Linked DNA regions of Homo sapiens: regions 1 and 3 are each linked to region 2. The links are contacts of gene promoters, found by promoter capture Hi-C in blood cells and fetal thymus (Javierre and others, 2016). All regions are on one chromosome and are shown on one strand. Each heading gives the region's core, a stretch centred on a gene start or on the middle of the fragment in contact. The rest is flanking DNA. Distances are from core to core; before and after follow the strand shown.

The links. The method cuts DNA at HindIII sites, captures the fragments that hold promoters and counts their contacts. A CHiCAGO score of 5 or more calls a contact.
Region 1: the fragment with the promoter of CBX1 here is called in contact with the fragment with the promoter of HOXB8 in region 2 in 5 of 17 cell types (megakaryocytes, naive CD4 T cells, erythroblasts and 2 more); the score reaches 6.2 in megakaryocytes.
Region 3: a fragment that was not itself captured here is called in contact with the fragment with the promoter of HOXB8 in region 2 in 6 of 17 cell types (naive CD4 T cells, megakaryocytes, total CD4 T cells and 3 more); the score reaches 5.9 in naive CD4 T cells.

Annotation. Positions count from the first base shown.
Region 1 is chr17:48,098,129-48,102,922 of GRCh38, reverse strand. It overlaps CBX1 (chromobox 1), which reads left to right and starts at 1,445. Exons shown (of 5, transcript NM_001127228.2): 1 at 1,445-1,655. RefSeq lists enhancers at 1,027-1,286, 1,113-1,712 and a silencer at 1,657-1,706. The HindIII fragment of the contact is 8,551 bases long and covers 1-3,411 here.
Region 2 is chr17:48,613,116-48,617,355 of GRCh38, reverse strand. HOXB8 (homeobox B8) reads left to right here and starts at 2,064. Exons shown (of 2, transcript NM_024016.4): 1 at 2,064-3,075; 2 at 3,847-4,240. The coding sequence starts at 2,652. The coding sequence ends at 4,154. The HindIII fragment of the contact is 787 bases long and covers 1,607-2,393 here.
Region 3 is chr17:48,061,262-48,065,871 of GRCh38, reverse strand. NFE2L1 (NFE2 like bZIP transcription factor 1) reads right to left here. Exons shown (of 6, transcript NM_003204.3): 6 at 4,327-4,610. Among named protein-coding and RNA genes, the nearest start is that of NFE2L1, 15 kb to the right of the region's middle. The HindIII fragment of the contact is 2,051 bases long and covers 1,478-3,528 here.

The DNA.
Region 1 (4,794 bases), core at 196-2,695, 510 kb after region 2:
CAGTTCTCCAGAGCCGTGAACAGTGCCTGCATCAGCAAAACTGTCTTATAAATGCAAACTCCTGCCCTGAACAGTGCCTGCATCAGCAAAACTGTCTTATAAATGCAAACTCTTGCCTTTTGGGGTAGAGTGCAATAGAGTTTCCCTCTTCCTCCTGATTAGAAGGATACTTTAAAATAAAAAAATAAAACTTTAGTTATATTGTGGCTTAAAAACATGTTTTTTTCCTAATTGTGTGTTTCCTTGGGATGATTGGGTGAAAGGTGCTGACGGAGATTAATGACACTGAAAAAGGTGAGCACAACTTACAATGAAAAAGAGGACATTTTTGTGGCGCAGCCAGTGAAAAGGGGGAAATTCAGGAAGCTATGAGAGGCCTATGGGGGGACCTAACCTACTCTAGGGAATCAGGGAAGACCTCAAAGGGGAAGTAATCTTAACACTGAACAGTATTTTTTTTTTTAGACGAAGTTTCGCTCTTGTTGCCCAGGCTGGAGTGCAATGGCGCGATCTCGGCTCACTGTAACCTCCACCTCCTGGGTTCAAGCGATTCTCCTCCCTCAGCCTCCCGAGTAGCTGGCACTACAGGCGCCCGCCACGACGCCCAGCTAATTTTTGTATTTTAGTAGAGATGGGGTTTCACCATGTTGGCCAGGCTGGTCTTGAAACCCTGACCTCAAGTGATCCACCCACCTCCGCCTCCCCAAGTGTTGGGATTATAGGCTTGAGCCACCGTGCCGGCGTGAGTAGGAATTTTACAGAGATTTGAGGAGGCAGAGATTGAGGACTAAGAAATCATTGGAAATTTGAGGCAGCGGCGATATGATAAAGTTCTGGTGAAGAATCTAAGATTCAAAAATTTTGAGGATGTGAATTACAGAACTGTCCAGAAGTGGTTGATTTTTTGGGGGCCAAGCATCAGGGGGCTCGCTTATAAAAATCATATGTTCTAATTTTTTTTTTTTTTTTTTTTTGAGATGGAGTCTCGCTCCATCGCCCAGGCTGGATCGCAGTGGCTGGATCTCGGCTCACTGCAAGCTCCGCCTCCCAAGTTCAAGCAATTCTTGTCTCAGCCTCCTGAGTAGCTGGGACTACAGGCACCTGCCACCACGCTCGGCTAATTTTTGCATTTTTAGTAGAGACAGGGTTTCACCTTGTTGGTAAGACTGGTCTCGAACCCCTGACCTCAGGTGATCCACCCGCCTCGGCCTCCCAAAGTGCTGGGATGACAGGCGTGAGCGACTGCCCCTGGCCCATATGTTCTAATATTCTAGGTTACAACGCTCTACGCTGCAATCTCTCCACCGTTACAGTTTAAAAACTATAAGTCCCTACCACCCTCGCCTACTGTGCGTGCGCGGCGCGCGGCGCTTCGGGCCTTGTAGTCTTGGACAGACCCCCGAGGCCCATGGTGCCGTGCGGCGGGTCGTTGCGCCTGCGCGGTGCGAGCGGCGGGCAGCGCAGACTGCGAGGCTCTTTTGTTCGGCTGAGGGGAGGGCCGTTGGCCGGGGCCTGCGGTACGCCGCTTCAGTGAGGGACGCCACTGCGGCCACCCGGCTTGCTGCCTTCCTGGGCGCCACTCCCCCAGGCGACCCGACGCGACGCGCCAGCAGCGCAGCACCGATTCCTCTCGGGCTCTTGGGCGCTGCTCTGAGGTGAGGAGCCCGCTGGAGGCGGGAGAGCTGGGGGAGGGGGCGCGGCGGCGGCGGCGGCGGGAGCCCTGCGTGAGGGAACGCGCTTTCGAGGCGGAGGTTAGGAGCGGGGAGCGCGCCCGGGTCCAGCGTCCTGCTTCTCCGCTTCCCGCGCTGAGCTCTTCGCCTGTCGCTGAGGCGTCGGTGCCAGCTGCGTGAAGGATGGAGAGGGCGGGGCGCGAATCCTGAGCCAGAGACTGAGTGCTTGGGGGTGGGCCGAGCACTTGGGGGCCGCTCTTCGGGGCCCGGGTGGTCTGGAACAATGTTGCTTGGCTGGGCGGCTGCGGGATAGGGCGGAAGGGGACAGGCTTGAGGCTTGGATAGGCGTGAGGAGGCGCATACGACCGCACAACCCGAGGTTTGTAACTGTATTCGGAAGACGCCGGGTCCGGCTGGGACTGCCAGAGGAACCTGGCTTTGCAGGACTACGGAGGAGTAACGTCGAGTGAATTGGAAGAGGGCCCAGGGCCGCACAAGGTGTGCTGATTGGAGGAGGAGATGTGTGGAATAAATTGGGAAAGGGGACACGGAGGGGGAGGGGCAGGCGTTTGCTGGGCCTGACTCTGGAAGGGGAGGAGCTGTTAGGATAAGTAGGGCGGAGATCCCGAGAATATTTCTATAAGGTATGTAAGAAAAAAGGGGAAAGCAGGCCGCCCTTGCATCCTGATGGGTCCTTACAGTGGGGAGGCTGTAAGAATAATGTGCGAAGAAAGGATGGAATACGCTTTTTTCAGTTTTCCAGGTTTCCTACTACCTTCACTCCATGATTCCTTTGGGGAGTTAAAAAAGTCCAAGTGCAGTTCTTGCTTTGATTCAAAATTAGTTCCGTACGTTTTTGTGTGGGATCGTAACTGGTCTCACAAAGGTGATGAAATTGTAAAAATATGTAGATGAGTTAATAGTTGAGGAACGGCGTGAGGTAGTGAGAGATTGTGAGATCGTGTGAGGTGCGAGAAATTGGGAGACATAGGAAAATTATGTGAGATTGTGAGGTAATATTTGTTTCGTGGGCCCTTCTGTTTTTAGCCAGCTTTTCCTTGTTGGAAAATTTGAATAGAGTGAGCTATATTTTACCTCTTTTTTTTTTTTTTTTTGAGAAGAGTCTTCCTCTGTTGCCCAGGCTGGAGTGCAGTGGTGCGATCTTGGCTCACTGCAACCTCCACCTCCCGGATTCATGCGATTCTCTTGCCTCAGCCTCCCGACTAGCTGGGATTACAGGCACACGCCACCACGCCCGGCTAATTTTTGTATTTTTAGTAGAGACGGGGTTTCACCGTACTGGTCACGCTGGTCTCGAACTCCTGACCTCGTGATCCTCCCGCGTCGGCCTCCCAAAGTGCTGGGATTATAGGCGTGAGCCACTGCGCCTGGCCATATTTTACCTCTTTTTCAAAGTTTCAAATGAGGGTTTTTCATAAATTGGTGTTACATTTAGACGTGTTGGTTTAACGCAATTGAGGTGGAATTTACAAAAAGTTCAGCTATAATCAGTTATATACTAGAACCCCTAGCCCAGGGTAAAGTAGCCTCCTCAATTGTGTTAAGAGTCACATCAGCAGTTTGGAAAGATTGTGAAAGGTCCAAGGCTTTGGAATAGATTCAGGAATACAATGGGGAAATTAATGCCGGTGTTCCTCCCTAGGTGCCTTATAGACTTTTATATGAAAGTGGTGTGATTGAAAAGCACTTGTATTGAAACCGGTGGCACCTTAATGAAGCTTCACGGGAGTGGAGGACCTGAAGTCGTTTACGGTTTTCCCTGTGGTGATATTTTTCTTCAATGGCTGCTGTATCCTAAATTGTTTCTCATTAAAAAAATAAATAGTAGGGTCGGGCGCAGTGGCTCAAGCCTGTCATCCCAGCACTTTGGGAGTCTGAGGTGGGCGGATCATGAGGTCAAGAGATCGAGACCATCCTGGCCAACCAACATGGTGAAACCCTGTCTCTACTAAAAATACAAAATTAGCTGGGCCTAGTGGCGCATGCCTGTAGTCCCAGCTACTCGGGAGGCTGAGGCAGGAGAATCGCTTGAACCCGGGAGGCAGAGGTTGCAGTGAGCCGAGATCTGCACCACTGCACTCCAGCCCGGGCAACAGAGCGAGACTCTGTCTCAAAAAAAAGAAAAGATAGATGATAGGTAGATAGATGGTGTGTGAAATAAATAGTTTTGAATGTAAATAGAAGCCTAGTGGTAAGTAAGTTACCCTGGTCTTCTGCATTTCTGAATACAGGATACCTATAACTTACAAACTATACCTCTAAAGAAAGATAGCACTCATTCTTGTGCCCATTTTAAGGACTAGGAAAATGTTTCTCTTTGTTGTTCACACCATTTGAAAATAATTCATTAAATTTTGGCATCCTCTAGTGGTTTATCTAGCAAAACCTCCCTTTTTTAAAAAAAAATCCTATCTGCAGTGGTGTAAGAGATTTTGCATTAGATTTGGTAGATTTTCACTTCATAGGTTCTTTCCACGAAGAGTTTCTGGTGTAGAAGGCTAATTGCTAGTTTATGGGCTCCCATAAAATGGAGCCATACTGGCCCCATCTCTACTAAAAATACAAAATTAGCTGGGCGTGGTGGTGCACACCTGTAATCCCAGCTACTTGGGAGGCTGAGGCAGGAGAATCGTTTGAACCCGGGAGGCAGAGGTTGCCATGAGCCGAGATCGCGCTATTGCACTCCAGCCTGGGCAACAAGAGCGAAACTCTGTCTCAAAAAAAGAAAAATGAAAAAATGGGGACGCACCTCTTGTTCATTAGTGCCTGGCACATAGTAGGCCGTTCAGATTGTTGATGAATGAATGATGAATAGGGGAGCTTTGAGATCCATTCTGAGAACTCAGCCAAATTAATGTGCATAGTAGTTTGCTTGTCCTGTGTCTGTGACATTTGGCAGAGTTAAGCTGTTGCTTTGCCATGTTTGTCTTAGCCTCAGTTAGTTTCTTTTTGTTTGTTTGTTTGTTTGTTTTTTGTTTTTTTAAGACAGAGTGTCGCTCTGTTGCCAGGCTGGAGTGCAGTGGTGGCATCATGGCTCACTGAAGCCTCAACCTCCTGGACACAAGCAGTCCTCCCACCACAGCCTCTTGAGTAGCTAGGACTA
Region 2 (4,240 bases), core at 815-3,314:
ACGGTCCCCTCAGCCACGCGCTGAAAATTCAAAGCCCTGGTTCTCTCCATTCCTCCTCTTTTCCTTTATCTCTCTCCCGCTTCTAGCCCCTCTCTCATTCTCTAGGTTCACTTTTGAAGAACCAAATGACCTCACTGGTAAGGTTCCCTTTGGAAAAGTGATAGTTTCATTTTTACAAATGTTGGGGTGTATGGGGTCCCCAAAAGGTGCCCGTCAAAAAAACAAACCACTGTTTCCTGAATAAACAATGGATTGAATATATTTGTAAAGCCTCCACTTTTGTTGCTCAAAATTTTCTTTCTGTCTCTCATTCCTCTCCCTTGCCAATCTACTGCTACAGGAGGCTACTGGTTCTGACCCTCAGACTGGGGCCTTCTAAAGCCTGGCCACCACCATCGTGAAGCCGGGTAGGCAGGGAACGCAGTGGCCACAGAGTGTGGCACCCAGTCAGCTTGTTCCAGCTTTCCGTGTTCAGACCTCTGGTTCCCAGGTCTGCAGGGAGAGCCAGGTTTAACTACAGGCTCCCCAAGGCGAAAGGAGAGAAAATGGGAGACTCAGCAACCTTGCTTTATCTGAATTCCACACCCAAGTCAGTTTAGGTGGTGACAGTGGCTCAAAAGGTCTTGGGGACACTGAGGACTAATAGATGCCCTCCCAACACATACTCTGCAGGCACTGCCTAGGGTGGCTGAGAGCATAGGACAGCGGACACGAAGGCCAGGTGCCAGGGCCTGATACCCAACCTTCTTTCCTTTTGATGCAGTGATGGGCTCAGTGGTCCCCTCTCACCCTTAGGCACTGCAGAAGGTGTGGGGGTCGGCCTGGGAAGGTTGGGAGCTATTAATAATTGGGCTTGGCTACTGGGTCCCAAGGCCTGGGTGCAAGTGTCGGGTAGCCCATTGGGGCTTCATCCCTCTGATGGCATCAGGCCCTCTCCCTTCATGCAAAGTCTGCCCTCAAAAGTGCTGATGGGCTGAAGGGCCTTCAGGAGACCCCCTTTTCAGCAAGCAGAGAGTGCACAAACCTGCAGAATCGGCAGTGGCAGCTCGAACTTTGCTCTGTGCTTCAACCACTGCTCATTAACCAGAAAGTTTCTTCTTCCCTCCCGTTCCCTCCTCAAGATCTCCCAGATCCCTGTTTCACAGAAAATTTTTGCTTATTTGTTTAATGAGAGGAAGTTTTGTGACTGGCCAGGGCAGGGCAGAGAGGGCAGGGCAGAGAAGGGACCTTTTGGGGGCTCCAGAGAAGGGGTGGGGGCAGGTGCTTGCCAGGACGGAAGGAGGTGAAAATCTCAGAAAAGTCACCGTTTGTGCCAAAAAAAAATCCCCATAATCATTCTCATTTCGGCTTCGTCACCCCCACCGTGCTGCAATCGGGCGGCGGGGGCGATCGAAGCTGCAGTTTTATAGCTGTAGAGGAAAGAACTCGTAAAATGCTAACAGCTTTTATGCGCTGCGGCATAAACAACAACAGACTCCGGCTTTATTGCGTTTTATAGTTTCTTAAAGAGTTTACAGCCGTTTTTTGGGGGGCCGGTTATCCAGCCAATTCCCTCCACACGATAGTTAAACCTTTATCAATAATAAGGAAATTGATCATTAAAGCTTTAAATATGACTACCTCGTTTGTTTGAAAATACGTTTAGGAGAGGAAGCTGTATGATTTGATAACTTGTATTAAAATACCAATTACATTTATAGGACCTTTTAAAACTCGGCGCAATTAAACCGTGTTCTTTTACATTTTTCCGAAGCGACCCTGACATTTAGAAAGACTCCAATTGCCTCGTTAAAATCGCGAAATTAACAGCGTGCCTACGCCTGGCGCGTTGTGTATGTGTGTGTGCGTGTTTTTTTCCGTGACTCCCCCACATCAGTCTTTGGGGGTGGTCTGCGAAGGTATTTGATTTGTTGTGAGGCGAGAGATATCTCATTAATGTAGGTAGTTAAACAGATTTAATCCGTATTCATTCTCTCTCACCCCCTCTCCCTCTCCCCCTCTCTCTCCCCCTCTCCCCCTCTCTCTCCCTGGGTGTTTTTTTCTTCCCCTCCTTTTTTTTTTTCCGCTCTCTCCTCACTCCCTGGCGCTCTCTCGCTCTAGCTCTCTCTCTCGCTCGCTCTCTCTCGCTCTCACCCTCGCTCTGCGTTCTGTCCGGGAGGAGTACGAAGAAGCCAATAGGATGCGGGGTCTCTAATGGATGCAAATGATCATGAAAAGACAGTGCAAAATATGAAACAACTCATTTGCAGGGAAGTAAATCACCGAAAACTGTTTATGAACTGGCATCCCTTCTTCGAAATGTAAAGCGAGGACCTCTTTAAGTGGTGGTATATTTTTGTTTGGGGGGTGGGGGGTGGGGGGAGGGCGAGCGAGCCGCGGCTGCCATGCAAGCTTAGACTTTTGGAGGCTTCTCTGTCCTTTTCTATTCCTGGAAACCACAAAAAGTGTGTCGGCTTCGAGATCTTCTTCGCCTTTTCTTTCTTTTCTTTTTTTCCCTCCTCTCTTTCCCTCTCCTTTCCTGGCGAGGGTGACTAGGAGCCGGCGAATCCGCGTTTTTTTCTCTCTCTCCCTCCCTTTCCCCCTCCCCACCCCCTCCCCAACAGCCCCCAACTATAGCCTCCGCCGCCGCCGCCGCCTCAAAATTCAATAAAATGAGCTCTTATTTCGTCAACTCACTGTTCTCCAAATACAAAACCGGGGAGTCCCTGCGCCCCAATTATTATGACTGCGGCTTCGCCCAGGACCTGGGCGGCCGACCCACCGTGGTGTACGGTCCCAGCAGCGGCGGCAGCTTCCAGCACCCGTCGCAAATCCAGGAGTTCTACCACGGGCCGTCGTCGCTGTCCACGGCTCCCTACCAGCAGAACCCGTGCGCCGTGGCGTGCCACGGGGACCCCGGCAATTTCTACGGCTACGACCCGCTGCAACGCCAGAGCCTATTCGGTGCGCAGGATCCAGACCTGGTGCAGTACGCAGACTGCAAGCTTGCCGCCGCCAGCGGCCTGGGCGAGGAGGCCGAGGGCTCCGAGCAGAGCCCGTCGCCCACACAGCTCTTCCCCTGGATGCGCCCGCAAGGTGAGCTCGCCTCGGGGCCGACAAGGGCAGGAGGGGGCCGGAAGGGCCCAAGGCCTGGCAGGCCGGGGCGCATTTCCTCCAGCTTCTGGAAGACTTGCCGGCTCCGTTCCGATCGCCTGCCGCTTTTCCCCTTTCTTTCTTATCTTTCTTTCTTCTTTCTTTTTTCTTTCCCTTGAAGGGGGTCGCTTAGAAACATTTCCTGAATCTATAAACCCCTCATCCTGCCTTACTTTTCTTCTTCTTCTCCTCCTTTTTTTCCCCTTTTACTGTTTTATGGGGGGTAGTGAAGAGAGGGTGGTGGGAGTGGGGGCGCTCAACTTTTGCACTTCTCAATTGCTTTATAGTTTAATTACCCTGAAGAAACTTTTCTTCTGGGGCAGAGGCTCTGGGGGCTTTTCAAGGTGGGTCCATTCGTCCCCACCCGGCTTTTTTATTCTTATTTTCCCCCCTCCTTCACATCCTTCCTCCTAAAGTTTATGGCACTTCTAATAGATCTGAACCACCTCCTACACAACTCTGGTGCTGGTTACCGGGGGAGGGGGCTCCCCTTTCTGGCTCCCTTAGATTCACTTGTGTCTAATCCCCCTCGCCCCTCCTCCTCCGCCGACCGCGGCCTTCTTGCGCCCCCCCCGCCCCCGCACGGGGTAGAAGGTCCCCTGCCCTTATTATAATGGTCTCCCAGGCTCGTTCACGAATCTTCCAACCTTCTCCGTCCCTGCCCCCTCCCCCACCCTCCCCTCCCCTCTGTCTCGCCCTTTCCCCCATTCCCAGCAGCCGCCGGACGCAGGCGAGGCCGACAGACCTACAGCCGCTACCAGACCCTGGAGCTGGAGAAGGAGTTCCTATTTAATCCCTATCTGACTCGTAAGCGGCGAATCGAGGTATCGCACGCCCTGGGACTGACAGAGAGACAGGTCAAAATCTGGTTCCAGAACCGGAGGATGAAGTGGAAAAAAGAGAACAACAAAGACAAGTTCCCCAGCAGCAAATGCGAGCAGGAGGAGCTGGAGAAACAGAAGCTGGAGCGGGCCCCAGAGGCGGCGGACGAGGGCGACGCGCAGAAGGGCGACAAGAAGTAGGCTTCAGCTGGGACTGCCAGGGCCGCGGCCGCCCGCACGTCCGCGGGTCCCGGCCGCGCCGCCGCCGCGCGCCCCTGCCCGAGAGA
Region 3 (4,610 bases), core at 1,254-3,753, 550 kb after region 2:
CAGTGAGCCAAGATCGCGCCACTGCACTCCAGCGTGGGTGACAAAGCTAGATCCTGTCTCCAAAAAAAAAACCAAAACAGCAGGCTGGGCGCGATGGCTCACGCCTGTAATCCCATCACTTTGGGAGGCCAAGGCGGGCGGATCATGAGGTCAGGAGATCAAGACCATCCTGGCTAACATGGTGAAACCCCATCTCTACTAAAAATACAAAAAAATTAGCTGGGCGCAGTGGCGGGCGCCTGTAGTCCCAGCTACTTGGCAGGCTGAGGCAGGAGAATGGCGTGAACCCAGAAGGCGGAGCTTGCAGTGAGCCAAGATTGCGCCACTACACTCCAGCCTGGGTGACAGGGCAAGACTCCGTCTCAAAAAAAAAAAAAAACAGCTTTAAGACCTTTGTTGGTATGGTGTATTCAAAAGGGAAGACAAAGACTTCTATCCAGCTAATTTTTGAAAACAGCCCTCTTCTGCAAGGTACCAGATTCTCACACTACTCCAGAGACAATACGTGTACTAAATTCTGTTTCTCGGCTAATTCAGGCAGACACGAACTGAACAGAACAAGGACTAGAACTTGTAAAGTTTCACACATAGTGGTAAGTTTCCCCATAGTCCCCAAATGGCTCATTCTCCACTCCAAAGTTCAGAGCGGGAGGCAAGGAAGATGATTGACTTCTGTGTAATACAGTAAAGGTAAAAAGAAAGGTTATTTTTGGTATATTGACAAAATGACAAGTTGAAGGTTTGTGGGTCCCTTTCACTTAACGGGGATCTTTGATAGAAAAACAAGGCTTAACTACTCATGATCATGAAGCACATGGGTTTTGCTACAAAATTTCTATACTTGGCTGGGAAAATGACTCAGAAGCAGACACCAATCTAGTACCTGTGTTTGTATACATATGGTACACCAATATGGAAACAGGCTTCTTGCTGTCCACCTGTTCACCATGGTGTGCCCTAAACTATATTTAGCGTGAGCTTCTAAAGTTGTTGCTCTTGGTCAGTGCCTACAGGATGAGGTAGGTGGCGGACTTGAGGATAGTGGGGATGTTGTTTTTTTCCACAAGGAACTGTTTACCAAGCAAACGTGAAGAGGGGCAGCAAGGTTTGGTTTAGCTGGGGGTTATAAAAGCAGGGATGAGGCCAGCTTGACAGGGCTCTATGAAAAGTACCTCCCTGTTCACCAGACTGTTGGACTAATTATTACTCAGCTTTCCCCAGTAAAGGTGGGGAAATGTCAGCTATGGAGGCCAGTCTTGATGACACTGAAGCATGTCTCTAGATCACGATTTTCCCTCTATAGTTCACTATGCTATTTTTATTGATACTGAAACAGCCCCACCTTCATTGGTGAGATCTATGCAGGGCAGAGGTTGAAAATATGGGCCTATTTCCATCTCCTTAACATGAGTAAGATGTGAGAAAAAAATCAGTTTGAATGAAGCCTGCAACTGCTGAAGTCAAGACAAAGTAAGCTTTCCCACACCCACCCAAGTCAGTCACCCTGAAGAGTTTGGTCCTTTGTTAAGCCTAAGTCCTGTTCGGCTTAGGACATCTTCTCACTTCCTGCCTTAGGTAGATGGCTAGTGGTAGCAGCCCTTCCACAGGCCTTACTTCAGTCCTCCTATCTTCCTGCCAGAAAGAGGCTGGAACACCCACTCTACCTGCCAGCAGAAAGAGGTCAGCCCCACAGCAGTGCTGACCAACTTGGCCCCATGCCCCAGCTAATCAGCACGATCCTAGACAAAACTGTACATATCTCTAAGGGGGAGGGGCTGCTAACAAAAATACTCCTTTTTTTTTGAGACAGAGTCTCGCTTTGTCACACAGGCTGGAGTGCAATGGCATGATCTTGGCTCACTGCAACCTCCGCCTCCCGGGTTCAAGCCATTCTCCTGCCTCAGCCTCCTGAGTAGCTAGGATTACAGGCACGTGCCACCATGCCCGGCTAATTTTTGTATTTTTAGTAGAGATGGGGTTTCACCATGTTGGTCAGGCTGGTCTCGAACTCCTGGTCTTGAACTCCTGACCTCGTGATCCACCTGCCTCAGCCTCCCAAAGTGCCAGGATTACAGGCGTGAGCCACCATGCCTGGCCAACAAAAATATTCTTACTCAGACCAGGGACAACACTAGCAATGGGATTAAGAAGAATTTTTCAAATCTCTTAAGTCTTTTAAGTTAAAAAAAAGTTGCAAAATAAGGTAAAAGTTACAGTGTAATTACTGAACAAAAATACATATACAGTCATGTGCTGCATATTTCATGAGTGACAGATCATGTATATGATTATGGTCTGATAAGATTATAATACCCTATTTATACTGTATTTTTTTTTTTTTTGAGACAGGGTCTCACTCTTTCACCCAGGCTGGAGTGCAGTTGCACAGTCTTGTTGCGAGTACAGGCGTTGAGCTACTGCACCCAGCCTATATTGTGCCTTTTCTAGGTTTAGATACACAAGTACTTATCACTGTACTTCAGCTGCCTATAGTATTCAGTATGGCAACATGCTGTACAGGTTTGTAGCCTAGGAGCAATAGGCTATATGGCACATAGGCTAGGTGTGTAGTAGGCACTACCATTTAAGTTTGTGTAAGTACACTATGACAAAATTGTCTAATGAGGCATTTCTCAGAATATATGTTGGCCGTTAACACATGACTGTACATACATTTCTAGGAAGGGTACAAGAATATTAAAACTTAATTTTACTTCTCACAGTTTACCCTTCTATATATAATTTGTATTTCTTAAAGTATTGGTATGTGTTTTTGAAACCTTTTTTTTTTTTGAGATGGAAGTTTTGCTCTTGTTGTCCAGGCTGGAGTGCAATGGCGCGCTCTTGGCTCACTGAAACCTCTGCCTCCCGGGTTCAAGCGATTCTCCTGCCTCAGTCTCTGAGTAGCTGGGATTACAGGCGCCCGCCACCACACCCGCCTAGTTTTTGTATTTTTAGTAGAGACGGTTTTACCATGTTGGTTAGGCTCGTGTTTGAACTCCTGACCTCAGGTGATCCATCTGCCTCGGCCTCCCAAAGTGCTGGGATTATAGGCGTGAGCCACCGCACCAGGCCTCAAACTAATTTTTAGTCTTGGTTTTTTCACCCCTTTACGTATCTTGGTTTTATCTGGCTTACAGACTTTAGTCAATTCTGAATTAGGAAAGAGTTCTTGTTTGATATGACCAAACCTTTCCAACTGGAGACTGGGGAGTTGTGGAGAGGCTCTTATAAACTGAAACATAAGAAACCATCATTATTCTTACAATTCTACTGAATTGTAAACATTACTGAAGTAGTATCACTAAAGGACTGAGCTGAACCAGGTTACAGGGTGGTATCCAGGAGTTTGAGATCACAGCTTCCATTAAGAGGATCATAGCTTCCACTCCTAAACCCTGCCCAATAATCTCACAGAAGCCAGGTGCAATGGCTCACGCCTATAATCCCAGCACTTTGGGAGGCTGAGGCAGGCGGATCACTTGATGCCAGGAGTTTGAGACCAGCCTGGGCAATATAGCGAAAGCTTGTCTCTACAAAAATTACCTAGGCGTGGTGGCGTGCGCCTGTAGTCCCAGCTATTCAGGAGGCGGAGGTGGGAAGATGGCTTGAGCCCAGTGGCAGTTGCAGTGAGCCGAGATCACGTCACTGCACTCCAGCCTGGGAGACAAAGCAAGACCCTGCCAATAAAAAGACTGCTGAGTGAGTGTTCATTCTTCCAGCATCTACTAAACACCTGCCCTAACATGGGCATGTGGAAGTTCCAGCATCCCAGAGACCTTCACACATTACAGCTCTTCACAGGGCGGGTAGTTGAGCAGTTTGAGGGAAAGCAGATTCTAGCCCCCTCAGCTGGGGAGGTTTCCCAGTGTCCTAAACCTTGGCCTCCTGCTTCTCTTTAGTGGCCCTGCTCCTGCTTAACACAGTAGTGCTTGTCACATGTTAGTCGCTGCCATGGATTTCTCAGGTTTTCAACATCATAACTACACTCCAATTCTCTGCACCCCTTTGGCAGGTGAGGCCAATAGAAAAATAACAGCACAGTTGAGTTTAAAAATGTAGTTTGTAGCAGGTGGACAGGTAAAGAGCTGGGTTAAATGACACCTCCACCTATCCTAGCTGTATGAGAATAAAAAAACTCCGAATCCTTCCTGAGAGGATTGAGCTGGCTAACCCTATGAAGTACATGGTGTCTAATGCCTGCCCCCAAGGTTTAATACAATATTTAAGACTTGCCTTTTGAAGTTCCCCACTGTCAACCTCCCCAGTTCTCCACCCATCTTCCCATGTGAGCTCTGCCTTAGCCACGCAATGGCCAGTCCTCCCTACAATGAGTCCATTTCCTTTATTCTCAATTTAAATTCAAAGTGGGGAAAAAGTGCACTTAAGAATGAATCATCCATTTTATTTTATTTTGTCATGTGCTCAACAGCATCTCTCTCTCTCTCCCCTCTCCCTGGCAGGTCACAGAGATAAATTAAAAATAAAATCTACAAGGAAAATAATTTATAAAAGCACTCCCAGGTTCACACCTTCTATCCCTACTGCTCAGTTAGGCACCCCCTAACTGGGAATCAGTGCTTCCCCCCACCCCCATTTCACTCCCACTT